2 separate regions of the Homo sapiens genome follow, and region 1 is linked to region 2. Evidence: promoter capture Hi-C in 16 types of primary human blood cells and fetal thymus (Javierre and others, 2016). All regions are on one chromosome and are shown on one strand. The core of a region is centred on a gene start or on the middle of the fragment in contact, and the rest is flanking DNA. Distances in the headings are between cores, read along the strand shown. Region 1 overlaps PKP4 (plakophilin 4). Region 2 holds the start of FLJ46875 (a long non-coding RNA gene).

What was found. The method cuts DNA at HindIII sites, captures the fragments that hold promoters and counts their contacts. A CHiCAGO score of 5 or more calls a contact.
Region 1: a contact is called between a fragment that was not itself captured here and the fragment with the promoter of FLJ46875 in region 2, in 1 of 17 cell types (activated CD4 T cells). The highest score is 5.5, in activated CD4 T cells.

The regions. Positions count from the first base shown.
Region 1 is chr2:158,462,103-158,466,985 of GRCh38, reverse strand. The region is part of intron 1 of PKP4 (plakophilin 4); the gene reads right to left. Among named protein-coding and RNA genes, the nearest start is that of PKP4, 7.6 kb to the right of the region's middle. The HindIII fragment of the contact is 4,448 bases long and covers 133-4,580 here.
Region 2 is chr2:156,339,937-156,345,153 of GRCh38, reverse strand. It overlaps FLJ46875 (a long non-coding RNA gene), which reads left to right and starts at 3,034. Exons shown (of 1, transcript NR_147695.1): 1 at 3,034-5,217. RefSeq lists enhancers at 1,753-1,812, 3,020-3,573, 3,574-4,129 and silencers at 2,223-2,832, 3,373-3,472. The HindIII fragment of the contact is 3,407 bases long and covers 323-3,729 here.

The sequences.
Region 1 (4,883 bases), core at 1,107-3,606, 2.1 Mb before region 2:
CTTTGAAAAACTTCATGTGCTTTAAATTATATCTACTTCTGTCTTAACTCTTCAACTGAGTATACAAAGATATTACTGATTCACAAAAGGTACAGATACAGAAAGTTTGCTCAATATCACACTTTCAAAGCTTAGCTTAGTCTTGGTGCTTGATTGGTGCCTATTAGTAGTATGATAAAGAGCATTATGAAAACTCATCTCACTATGGTTATAATCCAGGCAATTAAGTTTAAAATGAATATGAACCAATCTGTTTAAAATCTTCTAATTAATTTCTTTTTGAAATGGAGTTTCGCTCTGTCACCCAGGCTGGAGTGCAGTGGTGCAATCTCTGCCCACTGCAACCTCTGCCTCACGGGTTCACGTGATTCTCTCACCTCAGCCTCCCAAGTAGCTGGGACTACAGGCGCCCGCCACCACGCCTGGCTAATTTTTTTTTTTTTGTATTTTTAGTAGAGATGGGGTTTCACCATGTTGTCCAGGCTGGTCTTGAACTCCTAATCTCAAGTGATCCACCTGCCTCAGCCTCCCAAAGTGCTGGGATTACAGGTGTGAGCCACTGCACCCAGCCGTTAATTTCTTTACTAAGGAATTTGGTATAATGAATTATTTATCTAGCAAGTTGTATTAGAAAAGCATTTTTTTAAAGTCTAAATAGTTTTTTCCTTTGAAACATGCAGGATAAATGGTATCAGGGTCTCAGACCAGTTTACAAAAGGACAGAGGATAGGTACTAGGCACAAACAGACACGATTATCCAAGAGTAGCAGGTGAAGGTGTTCAAAACTAGAATTCAAACTCATTCATTCACTTAAGGTATGTAGAACCACTGGAGGTCAAGATTTAAGTCCTGTAGAAAGATAAAGTCCCTGCTGTTGAGTAGCTTAGAGCAGGACTATTTTCCCATGGAACTGATATACTATAGTTACACTACAGGACGGGAGATTTATGGATTAATGTTGCTTCTGTGAAAAATTATATTCACAGTTCTAAATAATATTTTGGAAGACTGACACTTGCCGATATACTATCCGAAGATTTCAGACTGACACTTATTTTTCATCTGTTGACAGTCTGAATTAGACCTTTAACATCTGAGTTGTTTATCACAGGTCTCAGACTAATAGTATTAATAGTTCTTGTGAAGTCCAGTTGGATTTTGTGATTCCTTAGTCAGTGCCTTTTTTAAACAGACTTACTGCTTATGTAGTTGTCGACAAAATGACAGTAAGTGAAAAATTCCCATCAGTGCATCATTCTGAGATTCAAAGTAAGATTCAATGAGACCATTTATTCTAGCATACATCACGAGAGATTTTGAAACATTCTGTTTATTCATAACAATGGGAGGGAATATTTTCAACAGCAAGTTTGGGCTTATAAAGGCACACAAATTACATAGAGAATAAAAGAAAAGCACAAAACACAATAAACGAAAATACTGCTGCATGAAAAATAAAAATAAGAATGTAATAAAATGGCAGGTCTTACAGCATAAATTATGGTTTCTCATAAATCATGTATTGTCATTATGATTAATTATTTCACATAGGCTATATGGTAAAGTGTTTCAAGAGATACAGCCAAAATAATCAAGTTCATGATTAAAACTTATTTTGAAATCACTATTTATCTTTGGTGCAGACTTTTCCCAAAGAAAGCTAATGAGAGTGGTTAGTGCATATCTCTAGAATCGGGTAATTTATCATGTAATACACAATTAAGCAAGTAGAAGTATGAGCTACAACCTAGTTATTTTATAGCTCATCCTTAATACTTATGAAACAATGTTACATGCTTATTTATATACCAACATTTCTAGGACAATCTTCTCTACCTCATGTGTCTTATCTTTCCCAACCAGACTGAAAAATGTATCATGGATTCCTTAAAGACCGAGACTCCCATTACTGAATCTAACACAGACAGTAAGTATCCCTGGAGGAAGTCATCTTTTTGGCCATAAGGCCTATCAGTCTGATATGGAGTAGGGGACTAAAAAATGTTGGTTAAAATGAACTAAAATGAATCATTTCAAATAAGTAGTATCGTTTTAAATAAGTATGCAAAATGAAACACAATACTGCACACACAGCAGGACTCCAACAAATATCTAAAGTACTAATTGTCTACAGTCCCCTCACTTGCACCCCTAGTGGTATACAGGAATAAAGTTACCTTTAATTCATCAAACAGTCCCTGTTTCCCACTCAACTCAGGGTACAGGTGTCAGAACACATGATCCATTTCACTGCAAAGTGGTAAATAATGGTTTCTATTTTACATGAGTGTTTACAATTCTCATGAAGGTATGGGAACAACAGCCAGTTCTTCAAGGGTTTATTTTGATCGTGACATTGACAATTCATTTAATACTGCATACAATAGTAGTATAATTAATGCTTCCCTTTGCAAATAATGTGCTTATTGCATTAGCAAAGGGGAAGAGCTAACCTCAATATTTTTAAACAATTGTTTTATAGATAAATACATACTAGAGTTCTATACGGATTTTTTTTCTCCACAAAGGAAGAGAACAGGGTCTAGGAGAAACTTTCATCACTGAATTTTTAAATTACTTTTTATAGAAGAGCACAAATCCAAGTAAAAAATTCTCCTCATGAAATCTGCCACAATTTCTGAACACTGGTAGATTGTCTATATGTAAAAATTAGACTTGAATGAAAAGTCCCTCTATTCTATGAGATATGGATTGACGAGTTCCCTATGAACCTAAAGTATTCATACAAAATGTTTTCAGAGGAGCAACTCTGTCAGTTGTTTAACTTCTCTGAGGACAAATCAAACCATCTGAGCAAGTAAGAAGTGGATCTTTCTCACTGTAACAAGACTAGTCCCTTCTAACCACCATGCTAAATCCCCTTTCTTGTTTCTATCCAACTTCTGAAAAATGTAGTCTCAATCAGAGGTGAAGCCTCCAATGTGCACAGGGGACTGGTTGTAGACAAGTAAGTCCCAGAAGTCAGGGCTGTGACAAACTGCAGATGTGCAGCTCCATAAAGGCTCACTGCTCAGCTCCTGCCCCGAGGGGCCCCAGGGATCCTCACTCCTGGAGCACTTCACCACTACCGCACAAGACACGGAGCCACTGACTCAGCCACAGAGGGGTCACAGGTTTGTCTGGCTGCGACACATATTTTCAGGAGCTGAGAATTTCAAGTATACAACTTCAATTTTCCCTCCTTATCCCAGAGGGTAAATTGTCATAAATCCTTGGGAAGACAGCATATTCTTGCTGAGGAAAAAATGTAATGGCTTGATGTTCTAAGAGTTGCGAAATGTAAGTACTAGAGGGACTCTAGAGAGCATCTAGACCAACTCCCTCATTTTATAGACAAGAAAACTAAAGCCCACGAGAGTTACATGATGTGCTCATGGGACACACACCTGCATAGTGGCAAAGCCAGGACTAGAACTAGAGCCTCTTGATATCTATTTAACCACTGTCTGTTGATTTATATCATGTATATTCCAAACCCCCTTCCTCTTTTCTAGCCTTTCTTGATTTGGGAGTCTCCTGCTGATTTCAAATATCCTTTTTTTTTTTTTTTTCAACTGTGATCACTTTCAGACAGAAAAGCCAGCTTAAAGAGTTAATTTACAAGCTGCATTTGGGCAAATGGTGTTAAATGATGAACACTTTCTAACGCTTTATTCATGTACTGACTAGCAAAGACATTTTATAAAATGACTACTACCTGGGATTACAAACGCAATAATTGTATACATTCTCCTATACTTGTTGGCTAGCGGTGGTTAATGCCTCTCTAAGTATTGCCTACCGCAAGAAGCTACAACTTCCCTACTTAAAAAGGCCCTTAATTACTGTGCTGGATTCTCTTTTCTACAATGTCCTGCAAACTATCAAGCTCACAATGGTTTCTGTTCAGCAGTTTATTTCTTCTCTGAAATATCCTGTTGAAATCCATAATCATTTTGACAAAACCCACACAGAAAGCAAGCCAATAATTTCCCTGGCATTTGGTAAATGCTGCAGAAACCATCATAAAAGCACCACAATGTAAAAATAATTATTTCAATGTATTAAGCGCTGGCTCTGAACCAGCTCCTGTTGTAAGCACTTTACATGTATTAATTCATTTAATCTCCCCAACAACCATATGAAGTGGGTACTTTTATCACTCCATCCTACAGATGAGCAAAACGAGGACCACAGAGATTATACAATCTGCCAGGTTACACAGCCAGCAAGTTGCAGTGCCAGAATTGGACCCTGACAGTAAGGCTGCTAATCATGACACCTCACTACCTTAATGACACTTCATGAGCCTCACTGAGTATGAAGGTGAAATCCCAAGCACTTTCCCTGGCCAAAACTACCATATGTAATCTCAGACTAGGGTAGAGGCAGACAGCAAGACTTTGAAAACATGTGCTTCATCCCTTCCCCTCACTTCCCAAAATGATATTGTTTTAAAACAAAACAATTAAAAATGAATGTGAAGAAGGTTCAAAAGTCTCAAAAGAGAAATTCAACTTCCTTGTTGCCATGATTTGAGGTACAAGGGGAAACAGGGCTGATTATGTATATTCAAGCTTGGAAAAGTTTTTTGTTCTTTTTTTTTTCTTAAGAAAAATTTTTAAAAACCACTGTGAACTTCAGGAATCTTGAGCTAAAATATAACTTAGATCAATATAATCCAAATTGTATTTTTAAAAGGAGGAAGCTATCATCCAAACATTAAATGGTTTGTCAAGGTAATAAGGTTTAATGGCAGATCTCCTAATTTCTGATTTGGGATGCTTTTTACTTCCCTCATGCTTGCAATTCAGACACAGCTTGCAATGGGCCAAAACTTCAGATACCACCTAGCCAGTGTTTCAAAAGTCTATTTGTAAAC
Region 2 (5,217 bases), core at 1,785-4,284:
TTGCTTATACTATAACTTCAGTGATATTTTCCAAGATGAATTTTCATTTCAATCACCAAAACTCTACTGCACAGGATATGGTAAATATTTGTGCTCATTCCTTTGAAGCCTCAACCTGGCTGGCACCACTCTCTAAATATAGATCAGGATTAACTGAGTAATAAGGCAAGAGTTCACTGTAGTTTCTCTAATAAATTCTTCAATACTGTTGCTGTAGAGGAGTCTTTCAAAGGATTTAACCTCAGGTAGACAGAAACTTCAGAAGATTGGGAAATGTTCACATTCTAAAACATTCACTATGTTTGAAAAATTGTAACAAGCTTTATGTTATCAATGAGATCCAGATAAAATATTTTCCGTATTTTCAGTCCCCTATTTCACGAATTTCGTTATGATTTTTTTGTTTTTGTTAGTTTTGAGGAAACTGGTTGTTTTACTGTATTTCTACTGGTTCTAAAGCTAATCTTGTTTCCTCCCTCCCCTCTAAAATCGGGCATGTTTCAAATTTCGCCAATATATGCTAGTTCTCATCCTATTAAATTTTTAAGGGCAGGGATAATGGAAAATGGAACATCACGTTAAAAAGGGATAAGAAGTAAGCAAAAGGGCTTTAATTTAAAATTATGAGAGAAGCTCAGTGTTTCAGGAAAATAGCAGTGAAAGAAAAATACCTCTTTATAAGGAGCAGAAGAAAGAACCTTAAGGCTAAGTTAAATTAGACATATCAAACATTTTATGGGAAAGAGAGACAGATGTGCTTTTGGAACTGGAAAAATATTGGTTAACTTTTAGTTGTGATCACACTTTGGCGGTGACTATATGAAGCAAATGTTTTGGCTCTAAACTTATTTTGCCACTTTTATGTTTTCTGATTCACCAACCTGAAGAAAGAAGAATAAAGCATATTCTGACTGATAAATCAGAAAACTTTCCCTTGTCTCAATAACACCACTTAGTGATAAACAATTCAGTGTCTTTCAACGGAAACATTCCTTTTAAAAACCACACAAACCAGAAATGGGAGCAAAATTGGAGAAAGTGATCTCATTGCATTTTGCTACCCATAATCCATTTGCTCACATGAGAAAACGTGGTGTTGGAAAGGGCCTGTGACATCATTAGACTGTAAATATGTCTGCTGTCCTGTAAATGAGGCAGACTGTGACTAGTTTTTCCTCTTAAAATAGTTTTAATGGTATATTTTAATTCATTATTTTCCTGAAGTGGCCCTAATATATTTTAAGATGTACAAAATTTTAAAATGTCAGAACACCAAATTAATCTACATTTGTTACCTGTCTCCCATGAGACACTGGGTGCTTATGTTTATTTGATAAAACTTTATCCCTGGACACAATATCCTTTAACATCCTAGAATGTAAGGGTAGAAAAGGAACTATCAGTCCTTAATGTTAATGAAGAAAGTGCGGCAGAGAAAGGCCGTGGTTTCTGCAAGGTGGCACAGAAAAGTACAGTGAAGACATAATTAAAACTCAAATTTCTTTATCTTCTAAACCCCAGCTCAGAGAACCTTCTACTATACCACTTTGCCTCACTAGTGAACTAAGAACCATTTCCCCCAACACTAGTAACTCACTCTAACCATGCCAAGTCACTGCAACACCTTGCTTGCATCTGCAAATTTTTATCTATGTCTATATCAGAACCTCAGAAAACATGTTCATAGCTGAGACATTTTGCTCAAGACGAAATACAGTTTTATAGTCTATTAATTGTTGGTCCAAGAAAACAGATTACCTCCAGTTGTATGTGGGTACCTTAATGAGTAGGACAAGTGTCAGGGTGTGTGACAGAATTGCCTGAGTATGGAAGGTAGCAGTGAGAGTCTCCACAAAAATATTAATACTTTCCTATAGAGAAAGCCCCTTTTAAAGTGGGAGCCTTTATTAAAGTCCAGAGTTAAAAAGTAAGCTCTTTAACGTTGAGATTATAGACTTTTAGAAAGTTCATTTATGCCATGTTTCAGGCCTATGCTAAATTCTACGGCAAAAAGACCTGTAAATGCACCGGAGCTGACAGCCTGGGTCCTGGAACCCTTCCTCACGCTGCTACTACGGGGCACCCTTTCTATAATACAACCCCCCGAATGAAAACACTAATGCAAGCCTGGCCCCACAAAAACCTAGATAATGCTTACGTTGAAGACGACAGGTTTTTCGCTTTTGTTTTCGGTTGAGGACTTACTACCCCAAAAACACATCCGACCTGTACTAGAATAGGTGTGTGAGGGAGCGGGAAAAGCTCGGGTCATTTTAACTGGACTAGAAAGGAACACAGCGATCCCCTCACTAAACTTGTCGCCAAGTTCCCTCCTCGCCATCCCAGGGTGCGGGAAAAACCCCCTCCCGCCCCGGGGCCCCGGCAGCACTCGGGGACGCCAGCACGCCGGGCTCCTTCCCACCCGCGAACCGCGCTCCCCGCAGGGCGGGCCGGGGCGGGGAAAAAGGAGCTCGACGCGAAGGGCCGCGGGCGGCCTGGGAAGGGAGGAGGGAGACTTGGGAGGCTGCCGGGCGGTTTTATTGTTTCCTTTCGCCCTCCTCCTACCGCGCCTCCGCCCCAGCGTCACTGGAAAGCCGCCCGAGCCGCCCGGCGGCAGGTTATTTATAGCGCGGGCTGCGCGCGCGTCACGGAGCCCGGCCCGGCTGACGGGGCCGCTGACGCGCTTGGCCGCGGGGCCGAGTCCGCGGGGCTGCGCGCCGGACGCCGGCGACAATGGGCTTCTGTGTGCAGCTGCCGCAGCCGCCGGGGGCCGGGGGCCGGGGGCCGGGGGAGGGGGGCGGGCGACTCCCCGGCTCCCTTCTTGGTCGGCCGCGACCCCCCGAAAGGTAACAGGCCTCTTTCGCCCCCGGCCAGGACCTGGGCCCTGTGGGCTTTTTTTTTTTCCATTTTATCAGTAAGTTCCCCTTGTCCCAGCCTCCGCTTTCACTTCCCGCGTTCCCTCCACCCCAAAAACCGCCCCAACATGTCCAGAGAGGGGCATCTACCCAGCCGCCCAGCCAGGGGCGACCACTTTGTGAGCCCCGGGGAGCGGGACCCGTACCAGGCGCGCCCAGCGGGGGATGCGGTGACCGAGGGGCCGGGAGCGCCGGGCAGGTAACGTATCCTGGACCTAGAGTCGGGGGACTTTGTTTGGGGCGGGAGGAGCGGAACAGGGGTGGGTGTGAACGCCGGACGGCCCTTCCGGGACTCCTGTCCCCCCTCCTTCGCCCCACTCGCCTGCGCGCTGGAAGCCAATCTGGGTGTGTAGCGCGAAGAGCGAAAGAGAAACTTCTGCGTGACTGACTAGATGAGGCTCCTCCCGAGAAGCCGAGATAATAGAGGCCCCCTCTCCCGCCGCCCGCCTTTTTCTCCTCCCCCGGCCGCTCGCTCCTGTCGCCCCACCCCTCGAAGGCTGCGGACCAGCCCCCCACACTTCCCCCTACACCTCTGGCGGGTTCGCGCCGTGGACGCCCCCGCCCTGCGGGAGGAGGGGCTGGCGCGGATTTTAGGGACTTCCTGGGATGCGGAGATCGGCTCTGAACCATCCCCTTTCTGCTGCCCGGAGCTGGGGAAGCTCGCTGTGGAGCGTCTCGCACGTGGCAGGCAGGCAGAGAACTTGCTGCACCTTCTAGGAAATTGCAATCGATTTGTAATGCACTTTCGCTAATTGGGAGTTCAAAATTAAACTTTAATAAAGCATTCGTGTCGTCTCGTCTAATTGTGAAAGCTTCCATCCGTCCTGGTAGATAGACTCTAAGTCTCAAGTTAATGGCGCTAAGCTAGATTTTCCCCCCAAGTACAATTCCGTCAGCCGTCGTCGGCGCAGCTGGATTTCCGTAAGGTACAGATGTTGCTAATGACAGCTTAAGCACGGATGGGCAGATAGCATACGGAATGCAACATGTTGCCATATGGTTCCTTTAGCCTTTCACCTCCAGGGATATCAATCACATATATTCTGGGAGGAACTTAATGACTCTCTGAACAGCAAAATGAATTACCTGGTACAATTTATATCCCTTGACCTGATACGTTATAACAACAGGAAGATAGCATCTCGCAATTTCTGTGGTATAAATTGAACTACAGAGCTACATTTAAAATTCTACATCTATTTGTAGTTTAAGGGGCCCTGTCATATTCTGGCTGTAAAATCTGTTTCTGTATTGCCCATCTCCTTCCCCCTCCTACCTCTGGAGGAAGCAAAATTTATAAAGTTTAGCAAAACTGGTGTCGGAAATTGCCAGTCAACTGATTAATAGATGAAGTATGGAGAAATGGAAAATATGACTTCCAGAGCTACTTACTTCAACAAGAATTAGCCATCTTTAGGAACACCATACTTTTAAGCGTACAAAATTAAAGAACTCCAGAAAATGTATTTTCTGCTAGTTGTTTCAGTATAGCTCCTAAATCTATTCATTAACTATTTGAAATTCTCCATTTATTTTCAAACTTCAACCATTCCTACACTTTGGAAATTACAGAAGACAGTTCTCAGAAATATGAAATACAGGAAATGTAAGTAGCACCTCCTCAGCGAACCAGTTTCTGTACCCACAACCCCATGCACTCACTATTTATGTAGCTTAATTTGAATCATGTACATGGTGGTACTGGTAGTTTGCTTTTTCCTCCCAACATGTCAGTGACAGCATACTTAAGTTGCTGCTTCTCTCCTAGTGGAGTGATTCTGCAATATTTCACAGGTCTCATTTTTAAATATCCTGGTGACTAATAAAATGTTTTAATTGATTGCCTTTAATTTCAGATTATAAACGTGGTTGTCTTACTGTATCCTTTATTTTCTATTCACTAATACAGATAGATCACACGGGAAGACAATACTTTAAGGGCAAAAAGTAAAATAACTTACTAGAATTTCTAAACTTTATGTTTACTTTTACCTACTAAGGGATATCTGAAAGGTAGAGACATACTTTTAAAACTTTTTGCTTCTGGCACTATGTAAACATTAATTCATGTAAACTAATGACTAGCAGAATGCCTAAGATAGACATGAACAGTCTGAAAAAGTATTTACTTTCAGTCATGTCAAGTTTCGGAAAGTGTTAACATTTTGAAAGTTTGTCTATATATCATGTCCTTTCATAATTATTGTGAAATTATAAGACGATGCTTCTCCTTTTTTTTTTCCTTTGTAGTGGCTGATTTGTTACCTAGTGCTTTAGTTCGATAATTTTGATAATTATTATC